2 separate regions of the Homo sapiens genome follow, and region 2 is linked to region 1. The links are contacts of gene promoters, found by promoter capture Hi-C in human tissues and cell types (Jung and others, 2019). All regions are on one chromosome and are shown on one strand. Each heading gives the region's core, a stretch centred on a gene start or on the middle of the fragment in contact. The rest is flanking DNA. Distances are from core to core; before and after follow the strand shown.

Region 1 (2,872 bases), core at 30-2,529:
AGACTGTTTCTTCATCTGTAAAATGGGCATATTCATATCTCCCTCAAAGGCTGTGTGAGGCTTAGGTGAAGTCATGTGCATAAAGCACCGGGCAGAGTGCCTGAACGCAGTGGAGACACAGCACATGGCAGCCTTCATAACCATCACCTTCCAGTGTAGATAGAGCAGGATGCTTCATGAGTTGGTGCTGCCCACCATGGGGGCTGAGAGTGGGAAGAGTTTTCAGTCCCTCAGGCCCTTGCCCCCTCTCGGATGAACTAGCCCAGCCCTTGGTCAGGCCCCCTGGGCAGGAGACACCAGGTGGACGCGAATCCTCACCATGCACTTGCGGTCATCTATGCCTGTCAGATCCTCCTCAAACTCCTTCCCAACCTGGAAGTCCATGATGTAGTTCCTAAAAGTGCTCAGCGTGCGGATGATCATATGGTCACCGTCCTGCACGATCTCTTTGTCTGGCTTCAGCAAGTTGGCGATTTTGCGCAAGGCCACATTGACGTCTGCGGTGGGGGTTGAACGGGGAGAGAGAGAGCGCCAGAGAGTTGGCAGGGAAACTCAGAGAACCGTTCCCAAGGTAGCGGGGCCCCAGGAGCCCTCTCCGCCCGCGAACACTGTTAGGGTTCCCGCTGGCTTTGCGTTGTCTCTGCGCACAGCCTGCCTGTGCCTCCCCTGCCGCCCCCAACAAAGTTTTCTGCTCTTATGTTAACCGTTTAAAAACAAAAAGTAGCAAACCAAGCCCCAGATTTACTAATGAAATTACCCACCTCCAGGGCCAACGAGCAGACATTTGCCACCGGTTAACCTAACAACCCCGAATTCTCCAATCTGCAGCCTGGGGGCTGCCCTGGGAGCGGTGGCCGAGGACGCCCTTTCTGGCGTCCGGGGGCACCGGACCGCGGCTCGCCGGGATGGAGGCAGGCAGGCAGCGTCTCGGGAGGGCTCTAGGGAGCGGCCCGGAGCTGCTCGGCGGGGCGCCCAGGGCGCAGCGGGCAGCGCTTACCGAGGGCGCGCAGGTACTCCTCGAAATTCTCGTTGACCAACATCTTCCAGTACCCAGTGAAGTCGACTGGCATTTCGGGGAGTGACTGGAGCCAGTTGGCCACAAGCGGGCGGGACGGCTGGAGACTGCCGGGACAGCGGCTGCCGGTGCTACGCGGGTGGTGGGCGGCCCGGAAATGAGCGCCCTCCGGGGACAGGGGGCTCTGCGGGGCGGCGACAGCTGGATTCCCAGCGCGCACAAAGCCTGCGGGAGGATCCATTGTAGCGGTCGCTCCTCCCCGCTTAGCGAGGGCGGGCGCAGGGGCGGGGGATGTCGAAGGGTCAGGTTTGTCCAGGCCGCGCCACCTTCGTTTCAGACGTTCAGTTCGTTTCCCCTACAAAGGAAGAGGAGACCGGAGACGGGACGTTTGCTTTGTTGGCCGAACTCTTCGGCTGCTGGGGATTTCCTTCAAACGCCATTAACTTCTCACACTCAGCAGCCACTCGGGAGTTGGGAAACAATCTCCTGGGGTTTGTGCTGGCGTGATTAAGGAAAGAGGCCACTTACAGGCCTTTGTCTAAAGCCTCGCGCCGGTGGTGGCTGGGGTCAGGAAAGCTGGGAGGTTCAACTACGGGCGAGAAAATTGGGGCACTTTCCACGTCTCTCCCGAAAATAAAAGAAAGGATGCCGGGCACGGCGGCTCACGCCTGTAATCCCAGCACTTTGGGAGGCCGAGGCGGGCGGATCACCTGAGGTCAGGAATTCGACACCAGCCTGGGCAACACGGTAAAACCTCGTCTCTACTAAAAATACAAAAAATTAGCCGGGCGTGGTCGCGGGCGCCTGTAGTCCCAACTACTCGGGAGGCTGAGGCAGGAGAATAGCTTGAACCCGGGAGGAGGAGGTTGTAGTGAGCCGAGATCGTGCCACTACACTCCAGCCTGGGCGACAGAGTGAGACTCTGGCTCAATAAATAAATAAATAAATAAGTAAAATAGTTGATGTTATTTGAAGTGCATGTGGCTAAAAAAGCCTTCTGGGTGATTCTGATGCACAATCAACTTTGAGATCCACTGCTGCTTTATGCAAATGTAAGCAATATACTGTTTATTAATGTTTCCTCCCGTTTCACCTAATGGCAGCACTGTACTCCACGGTGTTCTGGACTTTGCTTTATTCACTTAATATATTCTGGAGACTTTTCCATAGCTGTACATAGAAAGTATCCCCATTATTTTACGGAGTATTCCATTGCTTATCCAGCTTGTCCCCTGATGGACAAACTATATTGTTTCTGATCTTTCACTATTAAAAGCAGTACTGCAATGAAAATCTTTGATCACATCTCCTTTGTCACCTGCGTGGGTATGTCATTGTGGTTTAACTGCATTTGCCACCAAGTAGATGACATAATCACATGGGCTGACTTTTTGACCCTCTTTTTGACTACCTCTTTTAAATCGCTTTTTGCACAAATCACAGCCTAAGTGACAGCAGATAACATTTTCTTCCCCTCTAGCACCACCTTCCCCAGGGTGCCTCCCTGGGGCTCACATGTGTTCTCACAGTGCAGGCTGAATTAGGAAAAGGAGCCTCTTCCTCAGGGTAGAGACAGCTTCCTCCCAGGCAGCAACTTGGATTTCAGCGCTTCTCACCCTCTTTCCCTAGACTAGGATTTGTTTCTTAATCTCTGTGCTACTGACATTCTAGGCCACATAAGTCTTTGTTACAGGAGCCTGTCCTGTGTACTGTAGGATATTTAGTGGCATCCCTGGCCTCTACCCATTAGATCCCAGTGGCACCCAGACACAAAGATGTCGCCAGACATTGTCAAAGGCACTGGGGTGTGGGTGCTGGGTAAACCAGCCCTGGTTGAGAGCCAGCTCTAGGCCCTTG
Region 2 (2,783 bases), core at 122-2,621, 1.2 Mb after region 1:
ACTCTACCCAATAATATAAAGGAATGTCCTGGGACTTGCACTTCCAGGAGATGGAGTAGATGTACTTTTCCCTATTGCCTCCTCTAAATACAACTAAAAACACTCTACATTTTACATAGAAGATAAAGATAAGAAGACTGAAAGTGTAAATAAGAAAGCAGACAAGCTAGGAAGCTCAGCACCCAAGGTGTCAGAGGTGATGTCAGAGAAGACTTAAGGAAGTGTCATCTGTGTTACATAAATGAGCCAAATATGACCTCTGTGTATTGGCCCCTGGCTTGTTTACTTCTTCACAGAAGGCTGAGATTAATTCACTCAAAAGCCAACTAGTATCAAACTCAAGTTTTACAAATCCAGTTACTTCAAACACAGCTCAAAGAAGCAGACTGTTAGCCATTTAGAGCCTGTCTGCTTTGCATAGCCTATGAAACTGTACCAAACATCTACTAATCATAGATAAGATAAAACCAGCAGTGATAACAATCCCATTCACAGCGCTCTGACCCAAAGACTCCTGATTACTTATATGTGTTAAGTTCCCTCTCTGATCCACCTCTCTCCTTCTCTGGCAAGACCCAGAGAAGATAAATCTAAAGAAATCCACACCTAGGTACTTTATACTCAAACTGTGGAAAACTAAAGACAAACAAAATGTCTTAAAAGCAGCAAGAGTGAAATAACAACTTATCTAACTTATCTATAGGTAGAAAACAGTTCAAATGACAATGAATTTCTCATCAGAAACCATGAAGGCCAGAAAATAATGACGTATTTTTCAAGTTCTGAAAGACCTGTTAACCCAGAAGCCTATATGCAATGAAAATATTCTTTATGAATGAAGGGAAATTAAGAAATTTTCAGATGAAGGAAAACAAAAGAATCTGTCTCCAACAGACTTATCCAAAAACAAAGCTTAAAGGAAGATCTTTAAACAGGAAGGAAATGATAAAAGAAGGCACTTTGAAACATCCAGCAGGAAGAAGAAACACAGTAACTGAACATAGGAGAAAATATAATACTTTTCTCTTGAGTTTTCTAAATCATATTTGAAATTTAAAGAAAAAATTATAACACTCTGTGATATAGTTCTAAATGCATGTCAAGAAAATAAGAAAATTATATTATAAATGAAAGTGGATAAAGTGACACAGAGGGAGGTAAGGTTTGCATACTTCACTTGAACTGGTAAAATGACACACCAGGAGACTGTGTTATGTGCATATAATGTAATACCTACAGCAGCCACCTAAAAAGCTATCTAAAAAGACATACTTAAGAATAGATACGAATAGATAATCAAAATGGAATTCTATAGAATGTTTAAGTAACCCACAAGAAGGCAGAAAAACGTAAACAGAAACAAAAAAGAGAACAAAGGAAAACAAAAAATTAAATGGCAAACTTAAGATCTAACATAATAATTACATTAAATGTAAATAGTCTAAACATGTTAAAGACATATTGACAGCATAGATTTAAAAACATGACCCCAACATATACTATCTACATGTAACTCATGTCAAATATTACAAGGTTGTATTTGAATATAGGCAGGTTGAAAGTAAAAGAAAATGGTAGATAGTAGAAAGTAAAAGAAAGTGGTAGATAGTAGATGATAGATAATCATGTAAACATTAATAAAAAGAAAGCAGAGTGGCTATATTATTAGACAGAGAAGACATCAAAGTAAAGAAAATTACTAAAGATAGAGAGAAACATTATGTAATGACAAAAAGGGTCAATTTACCAAAAGACATAGTAATCCTATATGTATATGTGCCAAACAACAGGGACATAAAATAATTGAAGCAAAATCTGATAGAAATGAAAAGATAAATAGACAAATCCACAATTTTACTGGAAAACTTTAACACCTCTCTCTCAACAATTGATAGAATAACTGGACAGAAGATCAGCAAGGATATAAAACTCAGTAGCACCACCGACCAACCATATCTAATAAAGATTTATAGGATGCTTCCCACAACAACAGCAAAATACATATTCTTTGCAAGTGCCAATGGCACAAATATAAAGAAAGATCATCTCCTGGGCAAACAAATTATACAAATCACAACAAATTTAAAATGACTGAAGTCATACCAAGTATATTATCTGAGGACAATGGAATAAAACTACAAATCAGTAGCAGAAAGATAATAGTCTCCAAACACCCAGAGCCTAAACAACATGCATTTAAATAATTTATGGGATAAAGCAGGAGCTACAAGATAAATTTTAAAAATACACTAAGCTGAATAAAAATAAAAATGAACAACTCAAACTTTGTGGAACACAGTGAAAGCATGCTGAAATGAAAATTTTTAGCACTAAAAAAGAAAAAAATCTCAAATCAATCTAATCTCGCACCTCAAGAATCTAGAAAAAGAAGAGTGAAATAAACCCAAAACAAGCAGAAGAAAGATAATAAGAAAGATGAAGACAGAAATTTATAAAATTGAAAACAGAAAAATAGTAGAGCAAATCAGTGAAACAAAGAGAAGTTTCTTAAAAAAAAATCAATAAATATCTAAAAGCCTCTAGCAAGAGTGACAAAGAAATAAAAAGAAGACACAAATTACCAGTAACAGGAATGAAACAGAAGATATTACTACAGACATCAAAAGGATAATAAGGGAATATTCTGAATAACTCCACATACAGAAATTTGACAATTTAGAGATTATAGATTAATTCCTCAGAAAACTCAAACTACCACAACTCACCCAATATGAAATAGATCATTTAAATAGCCCCACAACTATTAAGGAAATTGAATTAAT

What was found. The method cuts DNA at HindIII sites, captures the fragments that hold promoters and counts their contacts. A contact is called where the count stands out against the background at its distance.
Region 2: a contact is called between a fragment that was not itself captured here and the fragment with the promoter of RBP1 in region 1, in 1 of the 25 tissues and cell types used here (IMR-90 fibroblasts).

Annotation. Positions count from the first base shown.
Region 1 is chr3:139,538,463-139,541,334 of GRCh38, forward strand. RBP1 (retinol binding protein 1) reads right to left here and starts at 1,280. Exons shown (of 4, transcript NM_002899.5): 1 at 998-1,280; 2 at 319-497. The coding sequence starts at 1,256. All of the region lies in intron 3 of COPB2-DT (COPB2 divergent transcript), which reads left to right. RefSeq lists an enhancer at 1-355. The HindIII fragment of the contact is 8,428 bases long and covers 1-2,872 here.
Region 2 is chr3:140,781,530-140,784,312 of GRCh38, forward strand. No RefSeq gene overlaps it. Among named protein-coding and RNA genes, the nearest start is that of TRIM42, 100 kb to the left of the region's middle. The HindIII fragment of the contact is 4,455 bases long and covers 1-2,783 here.